Linked DNA regions of Homo sapiens: region 1 is linked to region 2. The links are contacts of gene promoters, found by promoter capture Hi-C in blood cells and fetal thymus (Javierre and others, 2016). All regions are on one chromosome and are shown on one strand. Each heading gives the region's core, a stretch centred on a gene start or on the middle of the fragment in contact. The rest is flanking DNA. Distances are from core to core; before and after follow the strand shown.

The links. Contacts are between HindIII fragments. The CHiCAGO score rates a contact against its expected background, and 5 or more counts as called.
Region 1: a fragment that was not itself captured here is called in contact with the fragment with the promoter of ZNF154 in region 2 in 2 of 17 cell types (erythroblasts and non-activated CD4 T cells); the score reaches 6.3 in erythroblasts.

The regions. Positions count from the first base shown.
Region 1 is chr19:58,127,466-58,132,707 of GRCh38, reverse strand. ZNF329 (zinc finger protein 329) reads left to right here. Exons shown (of 4, transcript NM_024620.4): 4 at 3,197-5,242. The coding sequence starts at 3,205. The coding sequence ends at 4,830. Among named protein-coding and RNA genes, the nearest start is that of ZNF329, 21 kb to the left of the region's middle. The HindIII fragment of the contact is 2,632 bases long and covers 528-3,159 here.
Region 2 is chr19:57,705,680-57,710,919 of GRCh38, reverse strand. It overlaps ZNF154 (zinc finger protein 154), which reads left to right and starts at 1,716. Exons shown (of 3, transcript NM_001085384.3): 1 at 1,716-1,981. The coding sequence starts at 1,949. RefSeq lists enhancers at 1,536-1,595, 1,616-1,745, 1,489-2,128. The HindIII fragment of the contact is 9,236 bases long and covers 1-5,240 here.

The DNA.
Region 1 (5,242 bases), core at 594-3,093, 420 kb before region 2:
TTATGTTTTCTTTTTTTTTTTTTTTTTTCAGACGGAGTCTCGCTCTGTCCCCCAGGCTGGAGTGCAATGGTATAATCTTGTCTCACTGCAACCTCTGCCTCCTAGGCTCAAGCGATTCTCCTACCTCAGCCTCCCGAGTAGCTGGGATTACATGCATGCGCCACCGCGTCCAGCTAATTTTTGTATTTTTAGTAGAGACATAGTTGCCCAGGCTGGTCTTGAACTCCTGACCTTAGGTGATCCACCTGCCTCAGCCTCCCAAAGTGCTGGGATTACAGGCGTGAGCCACTGTGCCTGGCTTAATTTTTGTATTTTTAGTGGAGGTGGGGTTTCACCATGTTAGTCAGGCTGGTCTCGAACTCCTGAGCTCAGGTGATCCACCCACCTCAGCCTCCCAAACTGCTGGAATTATAGGCGTGAGCCACCGCGCCTGCCCCCAGTTTATGTTTTCACAGCTGCCACTAAGGTACCCTGCCAAGCACGCTGACCACTTTCCAAGCCCTCTTCCCTTGTGACCTACCAAAGCTTTATATTATTGTACTTCATTTTATTTTTACTCACGTGAAATGTGTATATTTTGTGTTCTTAAAGTCGCAGTTTGGAATTGCCTGAATGATAGAATGAGAAAATAAATATTGATGTTTTCAGGACATTTCTTTTTTTTCTTTCTTTTTTTTTTTTTTTTGAGGCAGAGTCTCGCCCTGTTGCCCAGGCTGGAGTGCAGTGGCGCTATCGCGGCTCACTGCAAGCTCTGCCTCCCGGGTTCATGCCATTCTCCTGCCTCAGCCTCCCAAGTAGCTGGGACTACAGGCGCCCGCCACCACGCCTGGCTAATTTTTTGTATTTTTAATAGAGACGGGGTTTCACCGTGTCAGCCAGGATGGTCTCGATCTCCTGACCTTGTGGTCCACCTGCCTCAGCCTCCCAAAGTGCTGGGATTACAGGCGTGACCCACTGCTCCCAGCCAATGTTTTCAGGACATTTCTATTTTCCCTTCACGAAGTGCTCTTTGATTACTTTGCCCATTTTTTTTCTTTTTATGTGCTGTTCTGTAAGAATCCTCTGTAGTTCTTGGGCAGTAATTCTTTGTGCTTTTAAATCTTATTTTCTCTCTGTAAGAATCCTCTATAGCTCTTGGGCAATAATTCTTTGTGCTTTTAAGTCCTATTTTCTCCCTATCTGCCACTTGCATTTTGTCTCTTATTGTGTCTTTTATTGGATGGAAAATTTGAATGCTGATATCAGACTTCTTAATCCTTGTCTGTTTTTTATTTTTTGGTTTTTGTTTTTTGTTTTTAAGACATGGTCTCTTTTGCCCAATCTGGAATGCAGTGGCACAATTACAGCTCACTGCAGCCTCAGCCTTCTGTGTGGGCTCAAGTGATAACTCCCACTTCAGCCTCCCAGAGTGCTGGGATTACAGGCATGACCCCCAATGCTTGGCCATATGGTTTTTTGGTTAAGTTTTGTTGATCAAAGTCTGCCACACTTATGAAGGCATACTACATTATTTAAACTTTGACTTTATGTTGCAGCCTGTATCCTTCTGAAATGTAAATACACGCGCACACACACACACACACACACATATACACATATACATGTATATATATTTAAATTGCCTAGAATGTAGACATATATGTATGTATGTATTCTGAGGCAAGGGTCTATTTTCATTTTACCTTAAAAAATAGAAAGAAGGCTGGGCACAATGGCTCATCCCTGTATTTGCAGCATTTTGGGAGGCTGAGGTGGGATAATTGCTTGAAGTTTTTGAGATTGAGGCTTCAGTGAACCAAGATCACACCACTGCACTTCAGCCTGAATGACAGAGCGAGACCCGATCCCACCAAATGAATGAACGAATGAATGGACAACCAGTTGTCTTAATATTGTGAAGTCTGAATGGACAAGGATGGTGACAGGAAGATTGATATGCATGAAGACACATGCAACCATTTACAGAATGCCCTTCATCCCCTAGCCTTGGAGACTGCTTTGTACATGATCCAGTTTTTTTTTTTTTTTTTTTTTGAGACGGAGTCTTGCTCTGTGGCCCAGGCTGGAGTGCAGTGGCACGATCTTGGCTCACTGCAAGCTCCGCCTCCCGGGTTCGCGCCATTCTCCTGCCTCAGCCTCCCGAGTAGCTGGGACTACAGGCGCCCGCCACCACGCCTGGCTAATTGTTTGTATTTTTTTAGTAGAGACGGGGTTTCACCACGTTAGCCAGGATGGTCTCAATCTCCTGACCTTGTGATCTGCCCACCTCGGCCTCCCAAAGTGCTGGGATTACAGGCGTGACCACCGCGCCTGGCCGACATGATCCAGTTTTTATAACAACCATGCAGGGCAGTCTTTGACAGTTTTTGTTTTGTTTTGTTTTTTGAGATGGAGTCTCACTCTGCCGCGTAGGCTGGAGTGCAGTGGTGTGATCTCAGCTCACTGCAACCTCTGCCTACCAGGTTGAAGTGATTCTCCTGCCTCAGCCTCCAGAGTAGCTGGGACTACAGGCATGTGCCACCACGCCTGGCTGATTTTTTTTGTATTTTTAGTAGAGACGGTGTTTCACCATGTTGGTCAGGCTGGTCTTGAACTCCTGACTTCAAATGATCCACCTGCCTCCACTTCCCAAAGTGCTGGGATTACAGGAGTGAACCACTGTGCCCCGCCAGGTCATTGACAGTTCTAAGACTTAGACCCAGAACTTTTAGGTCACCAAGCCTGTGCTTTGTCCTATCCATGAATGCAGAACTTTGATGACAGAGCTGGGGTGAGAACTGTTCCTTCAGTGCTGTTGTAAGCTCATTGTGAAGTCAGAGCTTTGGAAATGTGTACTGATGGGCAGTGTGTGACAGGGACAAGAATGCAGTGGCTGGGATGGAATTCTAGGGGGAGCAGGGATGCTTGGCCTCTGGTCTCTCACATCTCAAACTAATCCTTTTGGTGATGATTTATCCCGAGGTCCATTCCTCCTGCCTGCTCTCTAGGAAGATGAAAATGCTACATGGCTCTTTTTGAATCTGTTCTTGGTTCCATTCCTTGGCTACGATTTTACCTCTTCCTTGTATAAATTTGAATTTAAAAGAGAAAACAAGTAAAAAAATACACATCTTTACACCTAGCCCATCATCATTGTCTGTTTCTCTTACAGATAAAGCTTCATATACCTAAGTCTGCATTTTTCTTCTTTTTGCAGTTTGGGATATGAGATTGAAAATGACGACTCGGAATTTTCCTGAGAGAGAAGTACCCTGTGATGTAGAAGTGGAAAGATTCACAAGGGAAGTTCCCTGCTTGTCCAGTTTAGGTGATGGTTGGGACTGTGAGAACCAGGAGGGACACTTGAGGCAATCAGCTTTAACTCTGGAGAAACCAGGGACTCAGGAAGCAATTTGTGAATATCCTGGTTTTGGGGAGCATTTGATTGCAAGCTCAGACCTTCCACCGTCTCAGAGAGTTCTGGCAACAAATGGTTTCCATGCACCTGACTCAAATGTTAGTGGTCTGGATTGTGACCCCGCCTTACCCAGCTATCCTAAAAGTTATGCAGATAAGAGAACTGGTGACAGTGATGCCTGTGGAAAAGGCTTCAACCATTCCATGGAAGTTATTCATGGAAGAAATCCAGTGAGAGAGAAGCCCTACAAATACCCTGAAAGTGTTAAGTCTTTTAATCATTTTACCTCTCTTGGTCATCAGAAAATAATGAAAAGAGGCAAGAAATCGTATGAAGGTAAGAATTTTGAGAACATCTTTACTCTGAGCTCATCGCTTAATGAAAACCAGAGAAATCTCCCTGGAGAGAAACAATATAGATGTACTGAATGTGGCAAATGCTTCAAACGGAACTCTTCTCTTGTTTTGCATCACCGAACTCACACCGGAGAGAAGCCTTATACTTGTAATGAGTGTGGAAAGTCCTTCTCCAAGAACTACAACCTGATTGTGCATCAAAGAATCCACACAGGAGAGAAGCCCTATGAATGCAGTAAATGTGGGAAAGCTTTCAGTGATGGCTCAGCTCTGACACAGCACCAGAGAATTCACACAGGCGAGAAACCTTATGAATGCCTAGAGTGTGGAAAAACCTTCAACCGAAATTCATCCTTAATTTTGCACCAAAGAACTCATACAGGGGAAAAACCATATAGATGTAACGAATGTGGGAAACCCTTCACTGACATCTCCCACCTTACAGTGCATCTCAGAATCCACACCGGTGAGAAGCCCTATGAGTGTAGCAAATGTGGAAAGGCTTTCCGGGACGGCTCGTACCTCACCCAGCATGAGAGGACTCACACTGGAGAAAAGCCCTTTGAGTGTGCAGAGTGCGGGAAATCCTTCAACAGAAACTCTCACCTCATTGTGCATCAAAAGATCCATTCTGGGGAGAAACCCTATGAATGTAAAGAATGTGGCAAGACTTTCATCGAGAGTGCGTACCTCATCAGGCATCAGAGGATTCATACTGGCGAGAAGCCCTATGGCTGCAACCAGTGTCAGAAACTTTTCAGGAATATCGCTGGCCTCATTAGGCACCAGAGGACTCATACTGGTGAGAAGCCCTATGAGTGTAATCAGTGTGGCAAAGCCTTCAGGGACAGCTCCTGTCTGACCAAGCACCAGAGAATTCACACTAAGGAGACCCCATATCAGTGTCCAGAATGTGGGAAGTCCTTCAAGCAGAACTCTCACCTGGCAGTACATCAGAGACTCCATAGCAGGGAGGGTCCCAGCCGGTGTCCTCAGTGTGGAAAAATGTTCCAAAAGAGCTCATCCCTTGTTCGACATCAAAGAGCACACCTGGGAGAGCAACCCATGGAAACATAATGGTTGGGGGCCACATGAGTCTTCCAGTTCACTCTCACTCCTGTGTTTAGGAGGCGTGTCTTAGATCTGACTCCTCTCTGGTCAGTAGAAAAGAATCCTTTAAGCTATCCAGTGAATTGATGAATGTGAGACATTGCTGAGCCACACTGTTAAGTCTGCTCATTGGGGAACTCCAGAGACAACTTAGGATGAGGGCAGAAAAGTCTTTGGGGATGATTCAGTCTGTACCAGACATGACAACACACACACTGGAATGAAATGTGCAAACATGGGGGTGACACCACAGAGAGAACCTGTGAATGCATTCAGAACATGATTGGAATGAAGAGCCCTGTAGTAGGGAGTTTCCACCTTGTACGTAAGCAAACACTGAATCAACTTTTTTTTTTTTTTCGGACAGAGTCTCACTGTG
Region 2 (5,240 bases), core at 467-2,966:
TCGGCCAGGCTCGGTGGCTCATGCCTGTAATCCCAGCACTTTGGGAAGCCGAGATGCGTGGATCACCTGAGGTCAGTGGTTCGAGACCAGCCTGGCCAACATGGTGAAACCCCGTCTCTTCTAAAAATACAAAAATTAGCTGGGTGTCATGGCGTGCGCCTGTAGTCCCAGCTACTTGGGAGGCTGAGGCAAGATAATCGCTTGAACCCAGGAGGTGGAGAGGTTGCAGTGAAACAAGACTGCGTCATTGCACTCCAGCCTGGGCAATAAGAGTGAAACTCCATCTCAAAAAAAAAGAAAAAAAAAAAAGAAGAGATTTCTCACCTATATACCCTGAGTGTCTCTGCAGCCAGCAAAGCAGATGAAGGCCTGCTGGGTTGGAGCCCTAGGCCCTCCAATGCTGAAATGCCCTGTGAAGTCTCCATCCATCCAGGCACTCTAGTAACCTGCTTCTTCTGCCTGGAATTTATTCTAAAAATACCCACATGGCTCATTTCTCACTTCCTTCAAGTGCATTTCACCGGCTTTCTGATTAAGAAGTCCCACCTCTCCCCTTTGTCTCTTATCAAAGTAGCATTTCTTTCATTGTTTTTTGAGATTGATGTTAGACTTCTAGAAGGAATATATCTCAGATATCAAGTAAGAATTATGAAATGGATAAAAGCGTTGCTCAGTGAATTGGACACAGTTATTGACTGGACACAGTAATTGGACACAATAATTGACTATGCAGGCAAAAGATGTTTTCTGTTGGAATCAGACAGAATTCTACCTTTGTACTACTGTTTCAAGGTGATCTAACATTTCTCTTCTATCTTCTAGAAGCACTATCATGCCACTATCTGAAGTAGTTTTTCACCTGTCCCTGACCAAAAGTGCACAGACTGACTTCAATGCTTCGGAGTGCATACATTTGAAATGTAATATGATAGAGGCTGGGTACGGTGGCTTACGCCTGTAATCCCAGCACTTTGAGAGGCCGAGGCGGGCAGATCACCTGGGGCCAGGAATTTGGGACCACCATAGTGAAACCCTGTCTCTACTGAAAATACAAAAAATTAGCCTGGCGTGGTGGCGCGCGCCTATAGTCCCAGCTACTTGGAAGGTTGAGGCACGAGAATCGATTAACCCGGGAGGCGGAGGTTGCAGTGATCCCAGATGGCGCCGCTGCACTCCAGCCTGGGGGACAGAGGGAAACTTTGTCTTAAAAAAAAAAAAAAAGGAATAAACTTATATGGTAATGTTTATTAGCTTCCCTACTAGTGGATATATTTCGTGTCTGAATGGCTCTATGGAATGATGTACATATTTGGATTGGCAGCCTTAGGGAGCGTCTGATAATAATTTTAGCCTCTGGGAGCCTGCTGAACTTTATGAAGTTTGAAATAATATTCCCCAAACACTTGGGTGATCAGTTGCAGATGGCACCTCTAATATGCTGTCTGATTACGACCCATTTAAGAAAGGGCGAAGTCCCTCCACTGCCCTAGGACTTGGATAAGCCATTTCTCATCGCCCAGCGCCCTGGAGCTTCGCTTTTACTCCAAGAGGTTGGTGCAAAGGGTCCCCGGCACCCACCTCGGGATCTATGAAAACTACATTACCTAGAATGCTCTGCGTTGAACGCCACGCTACTAAGCCAGTAAGAGCTCAGAAAACCGACTTTCCTTGAGAGTCACAAAAAGAAAGGACGGGACTTTTGGGGGGGCCTCTTCGTGGCGGCCATTTTAGCTTCTCTGAGGTGTGTTCACCGGATCAGAGATAGCAGAGCGCCGAGTTGGGGCCACGAAGGCGTGAGGGGAGTCGTCGTCCCTCCTGCACGAAAGCGTCTAAGCCTTGGCGACGCCGCCCTGGGGGACCCACGTCAGGCCTGGGATAGGGACCGCTGTCCCCGGGTCCCTACCAATGTCGCCCGTCGCTCCCGGCCCAGCTCTACCCGCAGAGTCTGATGGCAGCGGCCACTCTGAGGACGCCAACTCAGGTGAGTGCGGCGTCTTCCCGTCCTCACACACCTTCCCCCACCCACGTTCTAAAGCCATCAGTGAGGGGCGCCTGCTCGAGTCCCCGCTGCCCAGGGTCGGGGACACTGAGGCGTTCGTGGGTGGGGCCCTTTTTTTGACACTGCGTGTGACGAGGTGTGGGAGAGCGTGACAGGCGGAGGAACCGGCGCGTGCAAAGGTTGAGGCGCGACTGAGCCAGGAGAATTCGGAAAGCTGTTTTCTGCAGGGAACGAAGAATATGAGGCGGAGTTACTCCTAGGGTTGTACTGTCATTGTGAGGATGCTAGAAGCCACGGAGAGTTCTGAACAAAGGAGGGACGCCATTTATGTTAGTTTTTTTTTCTTTGAGACGGAGTTTCGCTCTTATCGCCCAGGCTGGAGTGCAATGACGCGATCTCGGGTCACTGCAACCTCCGACTCCCGGGTTCAAGCGATTCTCCTGCCTCAGCCTCCCCAGCAGCTGGGATTACAAGCCTGCAGCTGGGATTACAACGTCCGGCTAATTTTTTGTATTTTTAGTAGAGACGGGATTTCACCATTTTGGCCAGACTGGTCTGGAACTCCTGACAAGTGATCCTCCTGCCTCGGCCTCCCAAAGTGCTGGGATTACAGGCGTGAGCCACCGTGCCCGCCCTATGTTAGGGTTTAAAAACTTTTCCAAAGACTGTTCACAGGAAGAGCAGCGATGGGGCGATGAGGACATTGAGATAGTGGGAGGCTACATCTTTTTTTCATTGCCCTACAGTTGGCAAGAGGTGACAGCACTGAGACCAGAAAGTAAAACAGCCAGCCTGAGTTCAGGGCCAGGCAGGGCTACAGGGAGGCTTGAGCTCATCTAGCCTCACCAGGGATGCATTCCTCTTTCCCTGGTTCTCCCAGTTGTAGAAGGGCGTATGGAACTCACATAGGGAAGTGGAGAGTGTTCGGTCCCTCAGTAGCCTCTACCCCCATGTTCTTGGGATTGTGGTTTCCTAGTATTCTTAAGTGCTGTTACCCCAATCCTGGGTCTGGTGCCCTGGAGAAATTCCAAGCCCAGGGCTCTTAAGTCCATGCCAGAGGTTACAGGGGTTATACTGAGGTGTTCCCATTTTTGTCAGCCAGTGGAAACTTGTGAAAGGTTATCTCTGGCACTGGTATCAGGAGGCGCAAGTGCTTAGTAAAACTAAGCTGAGATTTTTGAGGAAACCATAGATCTGTTTCCTTTTAGCTGGGAACAAAGAGCAGGGGGAAGGAGTCAGGACTGCAGTGGCTGCCTGAGAAGTTGGGTACCTATTCTGGAGGTAATGAGAGATTTGGGTTACAAGAGGGAGGTGATCTTACCAAAGTCCTAACAGGGTCCATCCCGTTAGCGTGGAGAGCAGACTGTGGGGTTGAGGGAAGAGGAAAGAAGATCAGAGTGGAAGCTACAGCCAGTCCAGGGTAATGGACCAGAGTCATTGATTAGGAGATGTGTTGCATTCTGGATGCAAATTTTTAAAGGGAGCAACTAAATTTTCTGATGTAGACAGCGAGGGAGTGAAACAGGATTCAGCGATGACCCCATGGTTCTTCAACTGAGATGGAGAAGTTGGTATTAACAGTAATATTCACTGGAGACAACAGGAGCTTTATTTGGTCATGTAAGAGTTTGAGATGTTTCAGAGACATTAAGTAGGCATTAAGTAGGTGGCTGAACACCCAGGTCTGGAAATCTGGGGAGTGCTTCAGAATGGAGACATCCAAAATGTGGTGGTCATTGTGTGGACTAAGGTGAGTGAGCTGTGGATTACATTTAGAAGGGTTGTTCTATTTTTTTTTTTTTTTTTTGAGATGGAGTGTCTCTCTTGTTGCCCAGGCCAGAGTGCAATGGCGCGAGCTTGGCTCACCACAACCTCCGCCTCCCGGCTTCAAGCAATTCTCCTGCCTCAGCCTCCCGAGTAGCTGGGATTACAGGCATGCGCCACCACGCCCGGCTAATTTTGTATTTATTTAGTAGAGACAGGGTTTCTCCATGTTGGTCAGGCTAGTCTTGAACTCCCAACCTCAGGTGATCCACCCGCCTCAGCCACCCAGAGTTCTGGGATTACAGGCGTAAGCCACCGCATCCGGCCTACAAGGGTTAATCTTTAGGCATGGTGGTACAGGTTATTTGGCCAGGAAGGGCAGAATGGGGGCTAAGGACCAAGCCTTTTGGTTGGATAAGTGGGTGATATTCTTGGGCTTTCTAAACAGAGGTAAGGGAGGTTAGTGGCTATGGAGGTAGGGTGTTTGGAGAGGATAGTTGGGCAGGTGGCATACACTTTCAAGGGAAGAGTGGATATAAGGTGGATGCAGAGGCATAGGTGTATTTGAGGCAAATGGCTGTCCTTTTTTTCCTTTGTGCTTATTCAGCACTCTGTGGAATCACCAGGATTTTTTGATGACTTTGATGGGGCCTAGGGTGTTTATTCAACCTGGAGGATAAGGCCAGGTGCCAATGTGGTCATCTGTGACAGTCACTTGGCCTGGGGTAGGTGATCAGTGGAGCTAGTCTTTGAGTGTTAAGTGGACAGAGGAAGGTTGTTACTGCTGAGGGGCTAGCAAGTGCAGCACGGAAGTGGAATAGGGCCATGGGTATCTGAGATGCACATGTGGTTCTGTGTGGCCTAAATCTGAGGCAAAGAATGGAGCCAGCCAGGGAGCCCTCATAGGATTTGGGGCTGCTACCACTAGTGGATGCCCTGGGAGATCTAGGGTAGTATTAGATCCGTTTGAATCTGTCGAGCATACTCTGGACGCTGTGTGCTAAGTTATGGTGTAAAGTCTAAAATTAAGGCCCAGTATGACATCTGGTGAAATCAGGGTGGCATCAAATGGCCTGAGTACAAGTTTCCCTCCCTACTCTTCTCCCAAACAGACAACCCTTTTAATCAAGGAGACCAGGCACAATTTCTGCCTATCACTTTGTAGCAGATTTCAGCTCCCTACCAGGTCATGGAGTTTTCCAAACAAGCCCATTGTGGGAACCAGGGGGCAGTTGATCCTTTTGTTCTCAAAGTGCTTGCATCCCACAGTTTTTGGTTATTCACTTTTTTTCTGGACTAGACCCCCATGTGACCCTGTGTGGTACATGTTGTCCTCATCTCCCAGGTTCTATGTACATATGATTAATAAACTGCTATATCATCTTTCTTTTTTTTTTTTTTTTGAGACGGAGTCTCGCTCTGTCGCCCAGACTGGAGTGCAGTTTCGCAATCTTGGCTCACTGCAACCTCCGCCTCC